Linked DNA regions of Homo sapiens: regions 1, 2, 4, 5 and 6 are each linked to region 3. The links are contacts of gene promoters, found by promoter capture Hi-C in blood cells and fetal thymus (Javierre and others, 2016). All regions are on one chromosome and are shown on one strand. Each heading gives the region's core, a stretch centred on a gene start or on the middle of the fragment in contact. The rest is flanking DNA. Distances are from core to core; before and after follow the strand shown. Region 1 overlaps NUP85 (nucleoporin 85). Region 2 overlaps MYO15B (myosin XVB). Region 3 holds the start of TMEM94 (transmembrane protein 94). Region 4 holds the start of LOC107985013 (a long non-coding RNA gene). Region 5 overlaps SAP30BP (SAP30 binding protein). Region 6 holds the start of SMIM5 (small integral membrane protein 5).

Region 1 (2,700 bases), core at 198-2,697, 250 kb before region 3:
GCACTCCTGGCCTCAAGCGATCCTGTTGCATTTTGGCATTTTTATTTTTGAAATGTTAGCTATTTTAGATTTTCATTGATTTTTGAGATCTTGAAGATGTTGAATCCCGGAAAAAAATTAATAGTTTTCATGAAAAATTTTCTTCATATTTAAAATGTCAAGCTTTTTATCCCTTTTTCTTTGTCCAAAGTGACCAAATTCCTATCAGTAGCTCCCTTATTGTGAACCTTGCAGATGCTTGGCCGTCACTTTTGTGTCCACAGCATGGATTCAGCTGAATAATAGTTCTGTAGGCTGAGCTGAGCCGTAGCATCCAAGGCACAGATGGAGCTGGAGAGTGACATAGCTTGTCCTTGGCTTGATTTTCCTGAGTTCCATCAGCTATTGGATAGGATGTGAATCTTTTTCTTTTCCTGATACAGTGATACAGTCTCCTTCCAGTAGAAGGATAAAACTGGAATCTTGACATTTGATTTGCTTTCTTTTTTTTTTTTTTTTTTTGAGACGGAGTCTCGCTCTGTCCAGGCTGGAATGCAGTGGTGTGATCTCGGCTCACTGCCACCTCCGCCTCCCGGTTTGAAGCAATTCTCCTGCCTCAGTCTCCTGAGTAGCTGGGAATGAAGGCATGTGCCACCACGCCCAGCTAATTTTTGTATTTTTAGTAGAGACAGGGTTTTGCTATGTTGGCCAGCCTGGTCTCGAATTCCTGACCTCGTGATCTGCCTGCCTTGGCCTCCCAAAGTGCTGGGATTATAGGCAAGAGCCACCATGCCCGGCCACAGAAAATTTTTTTAGAGTAGATTCACTTTTGGAGATGATCATAATAGATGTTAAATTTTTTTTTTCTGTTTGGTTTCAGAAAAATCAGAGATGGTGCCAAGTTGCCCCTTTATCTATATCATCCGTAAGGATGTAGATGTTTACTCTCAAATCTTGAGAAAACTCTTCAATGAATCCCATGGAATCTTTCTGGGCCTCCAGAGAATTGACGAAGAGTTGACTGGAAAATCCAGAAAATCTCAGTAAGTTGGTTGCTGTTTGGTGTTGAAGCCCACACTACACTGTGGAAAGCCAAATGAAGTACATTGTTGTCTTTTTGTGTGTTTTATGGGTTGCGTAAAGAAATAAGAGACTCCTGGTTCTAGTTGAGGCATGAGTACTGGACAGTGTACATTAGCAGTGATGGGAAGACTTAGCGGGAATATGCAAATGCTATTGATGGGCTGGCTTGACAAGCTTTATTTATATTCATATTTTACTTAGCCTCTAAAGAAGAAAATTTAGGCCACACAAGCATGTGAGAGTCGTTGAATGAGGTCACATTGTTGGGAGATTTGAAAATTAATATAAACCTAACAGTTTTGTCTCTAAAAAATTATGGTTCAGACGTTATTTGACAACAGACCAGAAAACTCTCGTACTATTTATAGATTAGGATTTTCTTGAATTGTAGTTCATAACTTCATCATTATCAGAGTGGTACTTGTTAATTGTAGACTTTTGGGACCCACCTCAGATCATCAAAATCAAAATCTCCGTGGTTGGATCTTAAAATCTCCAGCACACTGAAGTTTAAGAACTCCTGTGTTAGATTTTTGTCAGCGTCCCTTCACATGGATGGCTAGGGAATGGGCAGTGTTGGTATGTTACTTCTTTGATAAGCTTTTCACAAATGAATCATTCTGGACAAGACTCAGGTCAGCTTCTGTGTGAGTGTGTGCAAGAGTGATTATTGGTTGTTTTTCTGTTTTTTTTCGAGGCAGAGTTTCGCTCTGTCACCCAGGCTGGAGTGCAGTGACGCGTTCTCCGCTCACTGTAAGCTCTGCCTCCTGGATTCACGCCATTCTCCTGCCTCAGCCTCCCGAGTAGCTGGGACTACAGGCGCCTGCCACCACATCCGGCTAATTTTTTGTATTTTTAGTAGAGACGGGGTTTCACCGTGTTAGCCAGGATGGTCTCGATCTCGTGACCTCGTGATCCACCTGCTTCGGCCTCCCAAAGTGCTGGGATTACAGACGTGAGCCACTGTGCCTGGCCCTGTTTTTTTTTTTTTTTTTGAGACAGAGTTTCACTCTGTCACCCAGGCTGGAGTGCAGTGGCGCAATCTTGGCCCACTGCAGCCTCTGCCTCCTGGGTTGAAGCCATTCTCCTGCCTCAGCCTCCTGAGTAGCTGGGATTACAGGTGCGTGCCACCACGCCTGGCTAATTTTTGCATTTTTAGTAGAGATGGGGTTTCATCATTTTGGCTGGGCTGGTCTTGAACTCCTGACCTCAAGTGATCTGCCCACCTCAGCGTCCCAAAGTGCTGGGATTATAGGAGTGAGCCACTGCACCTGGCCTGATTATTGGATTTAAGGGACTCTAGTGGAGAATATTGGTGAGTTTGAGAAATCTATTGTCACTTCTAGGAAAAAAACATGTCAAAAGTCCTGTAATTCCTTGCTGGCAGGGGACCCTGTCTTATTCTTTTTTTTTTTTTTTCAGATGGAGTCTCACTCTGTCGCCCAGGCTGGAGTGCAATGGCATGATCTTGGCTCACTGCAACCTCCGCCTGCCGGGTTCAAGAGATTCTCCTGCCTCAGCCTCCTGAGTAGCTGGGATTTTTGTATTTTTAGTAGAGACAGGGTTTCACCAGGTTGGCCAGGCTGGTCTCAAACACCTGACCTCAGGTGATCTGCCCACTTTCACCTCCCAAAGTGC
Region 2 (2,700 bases), core at 136-2,635, 140 kb after region 3:
AGCTGCAGGCACTGCCCTTTCTGATGGGACTGACGCCTCCCTGGACCTGCCCCTAGCTGGGATGCCTGCTGGTGGGGGCTACTGCTGCCCAGGGATGCTTGAACACCCCTCCCTGTACAGGTGGAGGATATGCTGCCTATACTCAGCAGCTTTGGCCATGCCAAGACCATCCTCAATGCCAATGCCAGCCGCTTCGGCCAGGTCTTCTGCCTCTACCTACAGCAGTGAGTGGCAGGGTTGCAGGGGGCACCTACAATCACTTACCCTTCCTGGGTCCTTGGGCTGCTTCCCTGGGGTCCAGACCCTGGTAGGGCTTCTTCTGCACGGGGCCCCTGGGTGTTCTGCATCCTGGGCACTCACACCCATCTTCTGTGCCCACAGAGGGGTCATCGTGGGAGCCTCTGTGTCTCATTATCTACTTGAGACCTCCAGGGTGGTGTTTCAGGTAAAGGCAGCCCTTCTATCCACCCCTGCCCAGTTCCCAGAGTAGGAAGGGCAGAGGGTGTCACTGTCGGGGTGTGGCCTCTAAGCCCCTAGGGCACTGAGCCCCTAAGCCAGTCCTGTCCCCAAGGCCCAGGCTGAGCGGAGCTTCCATGTTTTTTACAAGCTGCTGGCAGGGCTGGACTCCATAGAGCGGGAGCGGCTCTCCCTGCAGGGACCGGAGACTTACTACTACCTCAACCAGGTCGGGGGAGCCCTTGTGGTGCGGCGGGGAGGCCTGCCCAGAGGAGGATCTCGGCCCGGAGGTCTGAGGAGTAGCCGGAGTAGAGGGAGGCTATGGGGTGGCAGGCCCCGCTCCCTCACCCCTGCTGTGCTCTGCAGGGCCAGGCCTGCAGGCTGCAAGGCAAGGAGGATGCCCAGGACTTTGAGGGGCTGCTGAAGGCACTGCAGGGGCTCGGCTTGTGCCCAGAGGAGTTGAATGCCGTCTGGGCTGTGCTGGCCGCCATCCTGCAGCTGGGCAACATCTGCTTCTCCTCCTCAGAGGTGGGCTTCCCCGTGGGCAGGGGCCATCTGGGGTGCTGGGTCTGTAGAATCAGGGCAGTGGTAATGACGCCAAATGCTGGTGTGTAGGAGACTACAGAGTGCTGGGCTGCCCTGAAAAGTGGGTAGATCCCCACTGTGTAGATGAGAAAGCTGAGACATAGAGCTTCTCCACTCTCCCAATGTCTGTGCCTCTAAGCTGCCACCCCTAAGAACATCTGGCATTAGATGAGCAGCTATGGTCAGGCATGGTGGGTCACACCTGTGATCCCAGCACTTTGGGAGGCCGAGGCAGGAGGATCGTGTGAAGCCAGGAGTTTGAGACCAGCCTAGGCAACATAGAGAAACCCCGTCTCTATTAAAAAAAAAAAAAAAAAAAAAAAGGGTTGGCGGTGGTGGCTCACACCTGTAATCCTAGCACTTTGGGAGGCCGAGGTGGGTGGATCACTTGAGCCCAGGAATTCTAGAGCAGCCTGGGCAACATGGCAAAATCTTGTCTCTACAAAAAATATGAACAGATTAGGCCAAGGCGAGCAGATCACTTGAAGTCAGGAGTTTGAGACCAGCCTGGCCAACATGCTGAAACCCTGTCTCTACTAAAAATACAAAAATTAGCTGGGTGTGGTGACACGTGCCTGGATGTGGTGGCACATCCCAGCTACTTAGAGAAGCTGAGGCAGGAGAATTGCTTGAACCCGGGAGGTGGAGGTGGCAGTGACCTGAGGTTGCGCCACTGTACTCCATCCAGCCTAGGTGACAGAGCGAGACTCCGTCTCAGAAAAAAAAAAAAAAACAAAACAGACTGGGCGTGGTGGCTCATGCCTGTAATCCCAGCACACTGGGAGGCCTAGATGGGCGGATCACCTGAGGTCAGGAGTTCGAGACCAGCCTGACCAATATGGTGAAACCCCGTCTCTACTAAAAATACAAAATTAGCCAGGTGTGGTGGCACATGCCTATAATCCCAGCTACTTAGGAGGCTGAGACAGGAGAATTGCTTGAACCTGGGAGGTGGAGGTTGCAGTGAGCCAAGACTATGCCATTGCACTCCAGCCTGAGCAACAAGAGCGAGACTCAGTCTCAGAAGAAAAAAAAAAAAAAGATTAGCTGGGCATGGTGGCATGTGCCTGTAATCCCAGCTACTGGGGAGGCTGAGGTGGAAGAATTACCTGATCCTGGGAGGTGGAGGCTGCAGTGAGCCTTGATCGTGCCACTGCATTCAGGCCTGGGTAACAGAGTGAGACCCTGTCTCAAAAAAAAAAAAAAAGAAAAAAAAAAATCAAACGAGCAGCTGTTATGTACCTGGGTACTGTGTAAATCACTTTGCATTTGTTTTCTAATTTAGTTTGCAAGACAACCCCCTAGGAAGGGTTACTGCTTCCCCTTTAGCAGTGAGGCCGTGGGGCGCAGGAAGGAAGGAGCCTGGCCAGAACTGTCCGCCAGCAAAGAGGGAAAGTAGGACTCGAACTCAGGGCCCTGAAAACCATAGCCTCGCTCCTAATGGCCCAGATCTCCTCATGTGACATATCTCCCCTTTGGTGACAGGGCCACTTACCAGGCAAAGCCCGGCCTGCCCTGCCTGGGGAGTGTGTCCATTCCTGAAGCAGAGATCTCCCTGTCCCTCCCTCTCTGTGTAGCGAGAGTCCCAGGAGGTGGCTGCTGTGTCTAGCTGGGCTGAGATCCACACAGCAGCCCGACTGCTGCGGGTACCACCAGAGT
Region 3 (2,936 bases), core at 185-2,684:
GGTGCGGTGGCTCACGCCTGTAATCACAGCACTTTGGCAGGCCGAGGCAGGTGGATCACCTGAGCTCAGGAGTTTGAGACCAGCCTGGCCAACATGTTCAAACCCTGTCTCTACTAAAAATACAAAAATTAGCTGGGTATGGTGGCAGGCACCTGTAATCCCAGCTACTCCGGAGGCCGTGGCAAGAGAATCACTTGAACCCGGGAGGTGAAGGTTGCAGTGAGCCGAGATCAAGCCATTGCCCTCCAGCCTAGGCGACAAGAGCGAAACTCCGTCTCAAAAAAAAAAAGAAAAAAAGAACCTTTAAAGCAAAGCGTAGGGAACCAACCATGTGACGAAGGAGCAGAGGTGGAAAGGTCTCTGTCACGTTTAAAGAATGGTGGTTAATCTATGTGGCTGCAGGAATAGTTTAGCCTGTGGGGACTTAGACCTGGAAACGTATGTCTGAGTCAATTTATGAAGGACTTTGAACATCAGGCAGAAAGATTTGGACCTATTTGCAAAGGTGAACTATCAGTTTTTGTGTGCAGGTTAGTGACATGATTCTTATGGCGTTTTAGGCAACAGCTAAACTGGGTCATACAAGATTAGGTACTAAAATGCCATCTTCTTGTCCAGCTGAGAAAGGGATTTTAATTACGTAATTAAACTCATGAATGTGGGAAGGGGCTCTTACTTCACAAGGCCAACCTCAGCTCTTTCCCAATTATATAAACAAGTTTTTGTTTGTTTTTTTGTTTTTGTTTTTTTTAAACAAGCCTTCCAGACTTAGATCTCTGGGAAAAGAGAAGTAAATACTGACACAGGCTTGCTTTGTTTTCCCAAGAGAGGTCTCCCAGGCGATTTATCTAATTACCTAGAAAAAAAATTTAACTTGTTTTTCCCTTTAGATTTCAGCCGAGCTGGAAGCGGGAGGGGGGAATTGCAGTATTGCCTTAGATTTTCTAGATTTGGTTTGGACGCAATATTCGTCCTGAGGGAGTCCCTCCAAGGCCTCTCGGAGCGGGCAGCCTCTAGGCATTTGTTCAAGGCAACAAGGAGGGAGCTTAGAAGAACTTAAGAGAGGCGGGGAGCTCTGCAAAGGGCTTATTTTAAAAAGAAAGGGAAAAAAGGTGGGGCGCGCCGTCTATCTTTTTAGAATAATTCTGTAGGAAAACGAATCGGAGGTAAAGCCATGCCCTCTGGTCAGGGTTTCTGGACTAGAAACTGCCTGAGCTTTACGCACAGGAAAGGACAGTGGCTCTTCACTCTCCCGGCCGCATCACTCGGCACCTAATTCCGCCAGGCTCCCAGAGGGGCGGTTGCAGCTACAGCCTAGCACGCCGCGTAGCCAATAAGAAGCCAGAATTCCCCCTATTCTCAAATCCTGACCAATCGGTGGCCTGAACTTTAGCTCTCTGGCCGGCGCCTCTGTTGCCCGGAAGGGAGGCAAGCCCCCTTAGAGTTGCCAGTAACGGACATGGCTGCGGCCCCCGGAGGAGGGGACGTGAAGTGAGGAGGGGGTTGGGAGGGGAGAGGACGCGGGCGAGGAAGACCAGCCCCGGGGCCCCGGTAAGTACGAGAAGGCCCGTGGCCCGAAAGTGGGGAGCAAGGGGGCGTGGGGCTCGGCCTTGCGCGTCCTTTGGATTCTTGGCCAAGGAAAGGGGAGTCTGGGGTCTGCACCCAGAGAACGGCTTAAGGGGATGCCTCCTGAGGGGGAGTCCAGGGACTGGCTCTAGTCTCCAGCTCTTGACCATTGCCTTCCCCCGAGTCTTCAGACTCTTGCTCTCAGCCCTGGATTGGTCCATTGTGGGGTCTCTCGCCAGAAATAAAGCCTCTCGCCAACAAAGAATCCCTGCCCCAGGTCTGTCGTGCCTAGGCCCTGGCCCAGAGGGCTCCCAACGCCGACGCCCTGAGTATTTATTTCGAGGCCCCTGGGAGTCCTCATCCCCGACCTAAATAAAGACCGTTGTCCCGCCTGCGCGCGCTCTCCGCAGCCGCCCGGGGTCCTCGCGCGGCCGTCCCCAGCTGGATGGAGCCGGCCGAGGGGCTCCTGGCAGCCATCCCTGATCTTGCAGTTTGGAGCGGGCTTTTTTTTCTTTCCGCCTTTCCAGAAGCGTTTTCAGGCTCCTCGGAAGCTCACCATCCATGCCATCGGATAAAGTGACTCCTGTGGAATGCCCTCGTTCCTGTACCGCACACCCCTGGAGCCCAGGTCTCCTGGTTCCTAGCATGCCACGATGCGGCCCCTGCCCGCTGCCCAGCGCCAGATGCAAGCAAAGCCCCGCTCTTTCATTGGTGTGTCACCGCGGGCTAAACTTTGGCGTTGCCTTGGTCACGTGCTGCTACATCCCACCCTCTCTCCTGAGTTTTTCGGTGGCTCTTGAGGGAAAAAAGGAGGGAGCTCGTTATGGAATCTGTTTTCCTTCTGCTATGTGGGTGTATGCATTGGAGAGAAGGATCTTTTTCTCATGATTTATCCAAGACGCTCAGCTTTAGTGACATAGTTGTTATTCCGCAGGTAATCTTGGAAGATGGAAGCAGGGAGGGGGCAGTTTTAACATTTTCATTTTGCAGATGTGGAGATTGTTCGGAGAGGCAAGGCCAGGGTCACCTAGAGCCAAACTAGAATCCGAAAGTCCAGGGGCTTGAGTTCTTTATCCGCTAGACCTAGTTGTTTCCTAGGTGTGACCTGAGGAGATCAAGTTCCCTGACTCCCCTGAGCTCTTGCAGGGTGGCTCTGGGCATTAAAAGCGATGGGCATTAAAAGTAGGATCCTCCTATGCTTCCTGGCAATGACTAGGGTCTTCATACCTGGTTTGCATTCAGTAATTTTAAGAAGCCAGCAGGTAGTTCTCTGGCAGACTTCTTGTATTAATATTCATTGTAGTCTCTGTCTGTATTGGGGGCGTAAATTATTTTAGTGATTCTCAGGGCAGCGAGAGGCAGAGTAAGAG
Region 4 (2,700 bases), core at 128-2,627, 200 kb after region 3:
CTCAGTCTACCATGAGCTTCGTGACTGTGACCTCTCTGGACCTCAATTTATTCACCTCTAAGTCTGAAGCAATCACGTCAGCGTCATCCGACAGGATCATTCCATGAGATGAGATGAATCCAAGAGCTTTTTAGACCAAAATGTAAAAACTCCTCCTGGGTGTCTCTCCTGCAGGCACTCACAGCTCCGCATGCCTGGACACAACCTGACTACACCAAGCAGCCCTCAGACTCTTTCCGTGGCCCCTGCCCCATCGCCTGCAGATGCAGGTAAAACAGATGCGTGAGTTCAAAGCACATGACTCCCCGAGGTAAGTGGGGCCACAGGCTTCTGTGTGGGTCCTGGATAAGGGTGAGGACTACTCAAGTGATGCCAGAAGTCCCAGCTCGGTGGCACATGATGACCACAAAGCCGATGGCTCAGAGCTGGTCACATCCCTTGGAACTGAGTGGCTTGTGGGGCCAGCCATCCCAGAAGAGGGTGGAGTGGAGGGAAGGACACCACTCAGAATACTGAGCAAATCCCCACACTGCGAGAGATCCCGGGGCCTCCAATAGAGAAGAGCAAGGTCCTGACTTCCACACTGCCCGACACAACAGCCTTTGCAGGCAGGTGTCCCTTGGTAGCCTACGGGCTGTCTTATGTCAGCTGCTTAACTAGGGCGTGCCGGGGAAGTAAATGATCTCACTGACACTTTGCTCCACATATAAAATAAGTCACTTACCCCAGTTCTTCACAGAAGGTCACCAGGGCATCAAAGGCCATGATAGTGGCTTTATCAGATGCTTTGTTTCCTCTCTTTTCCTGGGGACAAAAAATGACCACTTAGCAAGTCTTATAGAATTGGACTACCTTAGAGCCACAAAAAGTAATGAGGAGGCCGAGTGCGGTGGCTCACGGCTGTAATCCCAGCACTTTGGGAGGCTGAGCCAGGAGGATCATTTGAGGTCAGGAGTTCGAGACCAGCCTGACCTACATGGTGAAACCCTGTCTCTACTAAAAATACAAAAAAATTAGCCAGGTGTGGCAGCGCATGCCTGTAGTCCCAGCTACTTGGGAGACTGAGGCAGAAGAATCACTTGAACCCAGGAGGTGGAGGTTTCAGCAAGCTGAGATCATGCCACTGCACTCCGTCTCAAAAACAAAAAAAAGTAACAAGGGAGAAAAATATTAAATGACAGTAATAAAGCCATTTACAAAAGTGTCCCCAAACCTGACTATGTATCATAACCCCCAGACTACTGAACTGAATTTTCTGGGATGAGCTTTTGAGAGTTTCCGAAAAGCTTCTCAGGAGGTTCTCATGCAAAGGGCCCACAGACTGGCATTTAGGAAGCGCTATATAATATCACCTATTTTAATAATAGTAAATACACGCACAAATGTTGTGAACTTAACAAATATGAACACATATACTTCTGTGTATATTGGAGGGAGATATATTAAAAGGTTAAGTGACTCTTCTTGATAAGCTTAAAACATGAATTTAAAATACAATTTAAAACCTGTAATCCCAGCACTTTGGGAGACTGAGGTGGGCGGATCACCTGGGGTCAAGAGTTCGAGACCGGCCTTGCCAACATGTTGAAACTCCATCTCTACTAAAAATACAAAAATTAGCCAGGCATGGTGGTGCATGTCTGTGATCCCAGGTACTCAGGAGGCTGAGGCAGGAGAATCACTTGAACCCGGGAGGCAGAGGCTGCAGTGAGCTGAGATCGTGGCACTGCACTCCAGCCTGGGCAACAGAGCAAGACTCCATCTCAAATAAAATAATAAAATAAAATAAAATAATGCTTGACCTGCCGACTCAGAAACCCATGTGGGGTGGGGGTGGGCAGCTGCCAGCTACACCAGGAGAGCAAGATTCCCAAGCCCTTCAGTTGGCACCCAAGGGGCCAGTGTGCACCACTTGGATCACACAACCAGAAAACAGGAGGACCCCAAAGGTTTCCTGAGTCTCTACTTACCAGGGAGGCTGTGTGCGGCCCTGCCAGCTCATGCCTGAGCACAGCATCCCAGATGGGGCAGAGCAGGGTACGGCTGGGCAGGGGAGGTGGGCTCTGGAAGGTGCTAATGGTAGCAGACAGGGTGTTGCCTCCTGCCTGCAGGTAGGGAGCACCCTGAATGAGCGGGCTGAGCTGGGCTGGTCACCAGGCCTGGACCCACAGCTCCTTTGGCTATGGACTAATATCAGAGGAGTGGCTTATGGGAAGTGGATAGCAGGAAGCGCTGAGGCCTGGCTCCTGAGCGCAGGGTAAAGCTGGGGGAAGGAGATGGTACTGTGAAGGCAGATAAAGGGGCAAGAGCCTCAGGTTTCTGTCCCCCACCCCACTTCCCTGGGGCTTTCCAAACCAAAGCCTGCAACTAACTTAAAAGGAAGAAAAAGCACTTAAGTTACCAACAACTACCAAACTCCCCCAAAGCCCCTCTCACAAAATCCAAACTGTTTTCTCATCTCCACTCCTGCCTCCCCCACACAATATAGTTTCCTGTTTTCTTTTTAAAATGTTGCCTGCCACCTCTCCACCTGGGAAACCCAAGGCATGACTGCCGGTTGCTGGTGACAGGCACACAGCAGGCAGAGCCCCATCTTTGGTGGTGGGGCGGAGGGAGGTGGGGGCACCAGTCCCTGCCACATCCTCAATCCGCAGACACTCATCAGCCAGCCTTCCCTTTGGCTCCCACTAGAGGGGAGTA
Region 5 (2,903 bases), core at 400-2,899, 220 kb after region 3:
CAACACAGACACAATTTAAAACACACACACACACACACACACACACACACAATTGGAGGTGAGTTCTGGCCATGGATTCAGAACCACAGATCCAGAGGGCCGGCTGTACTCGACTCAGTATGTCTGGTGTGTGTTTGTTCAGTAGCATTGGCTGAACTGACCATCACTTCCAGTTCCACCTGTGCACACTTCCCAGGCTGGTCATACCATGTTGTCGGCCGGTTTTGGAAGAGCAGATTCCATGTTTTAAACTGGAGTGCTCTCAGAAGAGCAGTCATAAAGGTGAGGGGACTCAAAAGCACATCACCTGAGGGAAAGGTAGAGCTGGAAGACAGAAGACTCGGGAAGAGCCGGGGTTGCGCTCTGGTGTTTGAAGGTCTGCTGAGGGAAAGGCTAAGGCAGCCTGAGGCAGACCTGAAGCCGCGCGCAGAATTCCACAGAAGTTTACCTTCATATAACGAAGGACCTTTTGTGATCTCCGGCCACAAGTGGGTTGAGCTGTTTCATAAGGTAGTGAGCTCCCTGTTTCTAGAGGTTTTTCAGGCAAGTTTTTTTTTTTTTTTTTTTTGAGACGGAGTCTCGTTCTGTCGCCCAGGCTGGAGTGCAGTGGCTCCATCTCAGCTCACTGCAAGCTCCGCCTCCCAGGTTCACGCCATTCTCCTGCCTCAGCCTCCCGAGTAGTACCTGGGACTACAGGCGCCCGCCACCACACCTGGCTAATTTTTTGTATTTTTAGTAGAGACAGGGTTTCACCATGTTAGCCAGGATGGTCTCGATCTCCTGACCTCGTGATCTGCCTGCCTCGGCCTCCCAAAGTGCTGGGATTACAGGTGTGAACCACCATGCCCGGCCTTCAGGCAAGTTGTAAGAAACGACTTGTCATCAACATCATAAAATCTGTTGGTAGAGGTTGGATTAAACTCCAGGGAGTTCCCTGGGAACCCCCTAGGAAAGGACTTGGGCATTATACATAAGCAAAGTTGAGTATTCTCTAACTTTGTTATCTGATGACTTTAAAATATGCACAGACTGGAATTGCCCTGGTTTTTATTGCTCTGATGTTTGGGGTTACCTGTGAGCACAGAGTCCCATGTTTGGGAGCGTGAGTAAGAACTAACTCTGGCCCACCTGGGCAGAGAGACTTGGTCCTGTCCTTTAGGTTGGGGCAGCAGGGATTGGGCTCTGCAGGTGCTGAGTTTGCCCCAAACTAGCGAACAGGAGATTGGAGAAGGAGGCTGGGCGTTGCATAGGAAACAAGCTTTGTTTCCTGTGTTCCATTATTTTTTCGTCTCTAACTTCAAGTTTCTGATCTTGTCTCTTCGGTAAGCAGCAAATTAACAGGAGGTGGCACTGCTGTTCTGGAAAAAGAGCAGACGTGACAGTCCTGGGGCCAGCACCTCACTCCGGGAAAGGAGTGCCTGGTGGCTGAAGTGCTTCCTCCCCCTGTTTACCTTTGGCACCCGAACATCCCTTTCGCCACTCTCCTTTGTCCATTTTTACCTCGTTTGCTCTGGACGGTTTCCCTTGTTTATTTTTTTCTCCACTCCTACAGTTCCTGTGGATGAAGCTGTTTCCATTCACTCACTGTCCCTGACACACCCTTCCTTTGAAAACAAACATGGGGGTTGAGAGCCTGGAGCAAGAAAGATGGAGCAGCCTATTGCCAGCTGACTGGGAGGGACTGGGATCGCCGGCCTCCCTGAGGTGCTGATCTAGGAAAAGATCTAGATCTCACGCTCTGATCTAGGAAAAGAATCCTCCCAGCCCAGGAGTGTACATCTGTGAAAACAAAATTCCGTCTTCTGGGTCAAGGAGGTGGCATCAGGTGGGGGTTGGGGGGAATTGTTCTGGCATTTTTTAAAAAGGCGTGTATAACCCCAGTTAAGAGAAGACATTTTTAAAATTCTAAGATCCCTAAAGTAGTACTAAAATGTGGAGCTCACAAACAATTTAGAGCCGGTCTGGTGGACTTGTGGTCCGAAGACCTGGGTTGTGCCCTGGCCTGGCTTCCCTCTGGCTGTGGAACCACAGGCCTGTAACTTAAGCTTCACTCGGCTCCATTTGGGCAGTCAGGGCCGTGAGACCCCCTTTGCAAGGTGGTTGTGACTGCGGCGTGAGAGAATGTACATGAAGGTGCTTTTCGCAGTATACAATGCACTTGTTAGCAGTGCTTGGCCTTTTCAGTGTAACTAAGTCTGATTATACGCCCTTATCCTGTAGGTTAGAAGGCGCCACGATTTCTCGGCTCACTGCCCTTCATGTCTCCATAGTTTTTCACAGACCTCTGGAACAAAAAGAAATGCCTAATGGCTGAGTGTGGTAGCTCAAGCCTGTAATCCCAGCACTTGGGGATGCCCGAGGCAGGAGAATTGCTTGAGCACAGGAGTTTGAGACCAGCCTGGGCAACATGGTGAAACCCGTCTCTACAGAAACTACAAAAGTTAGCCAGGCATGGTAGTGTGTGCCTGTAGTCCCAGGTACTTGGGAGGCTGAGATGGGAGGATCATTTGATCCTGGGAGGCAGAGGTTGCTGTGAGCCGAGATCTGTACCACTGCACTCCAGCCTGGGCAGCAAACCAAGACCCTGTCTGAAAAAAAGAAGAAAAAATGCCTAACGAATGGTTCTGTTTCTTATGTCATTAGCTTCAGACACTAAGTATTACTGTCCTCACAATTCAGTAGCTGCTTAAAAAAATAATATGTGTAAGTGTGTGTGGTATGTGACATGTGGAGTAAGGCTGTGTTTCCTGTAACAGTTTTGTTAAATATCCTGTGGCACCTTTGTGAGTTTGCTGGGTTACCCCAGGTAGTAGTCTGGGAACTGTGGCAGTAGATTGTCTTAAGAGTTCCAGAGTGGGGGCCTTGACAAGTCCTCACTTAGCCTCCTCTGGAGGCCCAGCCGG
Region 6 (2,710 bases), core at 167-2,666, 180 kb after region 3:
GACACACTTCACCTCCTAAAGCCCATGCATTCCCGTCAGTAAGATGGTGCAGAAAGGCACAGCCCTCACGGACTGAGCGAAGATGGCTGAGGTGATGTCTGAAGTGCATTACAGTACAGTCATGCCCCATGGAATGACTGCACAGCCAATGGTGGTCCCCTACGATTCTAACACTGTATTTCTACTGTACTTTTTCTATGCTTATGTGTGCTTAGATATGTGAATACCACTGTGTTACAACTGCATACGGTACTCAGGACAGTAACGTGATGTACAGGTTTGTGGTCTAGGAGCAACAAGCTGTAGCGCATGGCCTGGGTGTGTAGGAGGCTGTGCCGCTTGATATTTTTTTCCTTCTCTTCCCTGGAATTGCTGTTTGATTTCCCTAAGTATACTCTGTGACCGCACAATGACAAGTTAAATTTCTCAAAACGTATTTGCATTGCTAAGGCAGGCACGGCTGTGTAGTAATATGTCCCATCATCAACCCGTGAGGGTGTCACAGGTGGGGCCTTTAGCCAGGGAGACGCAGCCTCGCCTGGAGTCCTCCTCTCGTCTTCCTCTGTCTCAACCCTGCTGCAGCCCTCCTGGGGTGAGCGGCCTCTGCCCATGCTGGGAGCAGGGAGCAGCCTCTGGCTGGCCCACGAGGCTCTGTCGCATCTCTGTTCCCTCTGCATGGGGGTGGCTGTCGACCCTTGGGGCAGCTGCAGAGGCCGCAAGAGGGGCCATAGCTCTCTCAGGCTCCTTATAAACAGCCATTCCTGCCACCAGGAACGTGGCACAGGGTAGGGAAGCCCAAGAGGAGATGCTGGAACACAGGCAGGGCTGTCTGGGGTGCCACATCCCAGGGACAAGAATAGCTGGCATTAACTGCTCTAACTAGAACTCCTCCCAGTGTGAGCACTGCTGCGGCTGCAAGAAGCCCTTTGAGGGGCTGCGACCCCAAGGCGCAGGCTCAAGGATGCAAGGCTGATTGCAACACCCCGGTAAGGAAGCAGGGCCTGGCTGACTTTCTTTTAGCTGAGTGAATGCAGCTCTGAAGCCTGACCTGGGCTGGGACAGCCGAGGCGGCCACCAGAGGGCGCTCCTGCCCCCACTCTGCTCCAATGAGTAAATGCAACAAATGGTTCATCCCCAGGAGTCCGTGCGCCCGCACAGCGGCCGCCTGTCCAGCCTCTGGGAGGCTCTGGCATCCGAGTGGTGTGACCACATGGCTGGCTTCCTCCCCCTGCCCTCCTCAGGCCCTGACTCACTGGGGTTTTGTGCTCGGACTCAAAGAGCTCCATTGACAGCGGGGCTGGGGTCGGTTTCTCTCCACACAGCCTAGCCTGCTGGGAGGCACAACCAGGCAAATGTCACAGGGCCCGGCCCCTGGACTCTGGAGCCCTGCCCTGACAGCTGGGCCAGGAGTGCGGTCACAGCCCCAGCAGAAGGCCCTCACCTCACAAGGAACATGAGGCGCCTTGCCGGGCGCGCAGGCCACTCCCAGGTCACTCAGGATTCCAAGTTCTCCCCCAAGACGCCTTCAGATGCTGAGCGGCACAAGGGCCTCCCCAGGGACTGGTTGCAAAGCCTCCTGCTCAGCTTGAGAGGGCCACCAGCTCCCCACTGTTTACTGTTGTTCCTGAGAGAGGCCAGAGGGAGGGACCAGCCAGGGAGTGGCCAGAGGGACAGAAGGGGTGGCCTTCCTGAGGGCAGGGTGGGTGCCCCAGACCTGAGAGCGCTGCAGGACTCCCCTCCACAGGCTCAGGTGGAGCCTCCCCAGGGTCCTCCTGGCCAGGAAGGCAGAGAGCCGACTTCTTTCTTCAGCTCCCAACCCAGGCCCAGCCCACGGCGTGGGAGTCGGGGAGAGGGAGAGGAGGAGGAAGGAGGAGGAGAGAGGGAGCTTGTCTTGTCCCTGAGCAGCGCTCTCAGGGCAGAGGTGAGGCACCGGGACATGAAGTTGGAGGACAAGTTCCCAAGCAGGGCTTCCTCGGGCTCCCCCTCGCGACGGTAATTTGACACTTGGATCTCCAGGACGACCAACAACAAAAAAGCCAGGCAGAGACAGCAGCTGGCTGTCAGCAGAGGAGCTGGGCTGAGGCGCCCAGGGGAGCAGCGGCGCCCACGAAGGAAGTACGAGGACAGCACGTGGAGGCTCCGCGCTGGGGCACTGCTGCTCAGCCCCCAACACCTGAGCTCCCAGGTGAGTGGCAATGGCCACAGAAGAAGGGGGGACAGGGAGGGAGCAGCAAGGGTCCCCTGCCCCCAGGGTGAAGGGCCACAGTCTACCATAAACACGGAGAGGTCTTCGGGGACATGCTGGGTCGCTTCCCTGCAGGGAAGTCAGCCAGCCTCCTGCACACACCTGCACTCTCCCTGCTGCTGGGACCCTGCACTAGGGGAGGGCTGGGGGCTCTGCTCAGAGCGCCTCCTGCTCCGCCTGCTGTGCAGCAGAGGGGCCCCGAGGGCCTGCTTATTCTGCAAGTTCATTTCAGCTCTTTTATTCAGGGGGCTTAAAAGAGGGATTTGGCTGTCCAGCTTGGGAGAGAATGGCTGCCGGCCTGCTGAGCCTCCCTTTTTCCCAGGATTAGGGCAGAGCCCTGTCGAGGTCAGCGCAGGGTCTGCCCAGCCAGCATGCGGCGCCCCCAGGATGCAGCAGGACTCTGCCCATCTGTGTCCTTTCAGGGGCTTGGCCCACTCACTGCTGGTGTTCTCAGCTCACGGCTCA

What was found. Contacts are between HindIII fragments. The CHiCAGO score rates a contact against its expected background, and 5 or more counts as called.
Region 1: a fragment that was not itself captured here is called in contact with the fragment with the promoter of TMEM94 in region 3 in 1 of 17 cell types (endothelial precursors); the score reaches 5.1 in endothelial precursors.
Region 2: a contact is called between a fragment that was not itself captured here and the fragment with the promoter of TMEM94 in region 3, in 4 of 17 cell types (megakaryocytes, endothelial precursors, M1 macrophages and 1 more). The highest score is 6.3, in megakaryocytes.
Region 4: a contact is called between a fragment that was not itself captured here and the fragment with the promoter of TMEM94 in region 3, in 2 of 17 cell types (M1 macrophages and endothelial precursors). The highest score is 6.1, in M1 macrophages.
Region 5: a contact is called between a fragment that was not itself captured here and the fragment with the promoter of TMEM94 in region 3, in 1 of 17 cell types (endothelial precursors). The highest score is 5.9, in endothelial precursors.
Region 6: the fragment with the promoter of SMIM5 here is called in contact with the fragment with the promoter of TMEM94 in region 3 in 2 of 17 cell types (erythroblasts and endothelial precursors); the score reaches 8.4 in erythroblasts.

Annotation. Positions count from the first base shown.
Region 1 is chr17:75,208,964-75,211,663 of GRCh38, forward strand. It overlaps NUP85 (nucleoporin 85), which reads left to right. Exons shown (of 19, transcript NM_024844.5): 3 at 860-1,022. Among named protein-coding and RNA genes, the nearest start is that of NUP85, 4.6 kb to the left of the region's middle. The HindIII fragment of the contact is 426 bases long and covers 1,235-1,660 here.
Region 2 is chr17:75,591,857-75,594,556 of GRCh38, forward strand. It overlaps MYO15B (myosin XVB), which reads left to right. Exons shown (of 64, transcript NM_001395058.1): 6 at 121-224; 7 at 382-445; 8 at 572-685; 9 at 823-984; 10 at 2,619-2,700. Among named protein-coding and RNA genes, the nearest start is that of MYO15B, 5.4 kb to the left of the region's middle. The HindIII fragment of the contact is 5,609 bases long and covers 1-2,700 here.
Region 3 is chr17:75,455,201-75,458,136 of GRCh38, forward strand. It overlaps TMEM94 (transmembrane protein 94), which reads left to right and starts at 1,435. Exons shown (of 32, transcript NM_014738.6): 1 at 1,435-1,551. RefSeq lists an enhancer at 1,132-1,181 and a silencer at 1,332-1,491. The HindIII fragment of the contact is 5,875 bases long and covers 1-2,936 here.
Region 4 is chr17:75,650,462-75,653,161 of GRCh38, forward strand. RECQL5 (RecQ like helicase 5) reads right to left here. Exons shown (of 20, transcript NM_004259.7): 8 at 725-804. It overlaps LOC107985013 (a long non-coding RNA gene), which reads left to right and starts at 175. Exons shown (of 3, transcript XR_001753017.1): 1 at 175-310. The HindIII fragment of the contact is 186 bases long and covers 1,285-1,470 here.
Region 5 is chr17:75,678,444-75,681,346 of GRCh38, forward strand. All of the region lies in intron 3 of SAP30BP (SAP30 binding protein), which reads left to right. Among named protein-coding and RNA genes, the nearest start is that of SAP30BP-AS1, 4.9 kb to the right of the region's middle. The HindIII fragment of the contact is 787 bases long and covers 1,257-2,043 here.
Region 6 is chr17:75,632,018-75,634,727 of GRCh38, forward strand. It overlaps SMIM5 (small integral membrane protein 5), which reads left to right and starts at 1,417. Exons shown (of 3, transcript NM_001162995.3): 1 at 1,417-2,185. The region is part of intron 8 of RECQL5 (RecQ like helicase 5); the gene reads right to left. RefSeq lists enhancers at 489-1,169, 1,170-1,849. The HindIII fragment of the contact is 11,256 bases long and covers 1-2,710 here.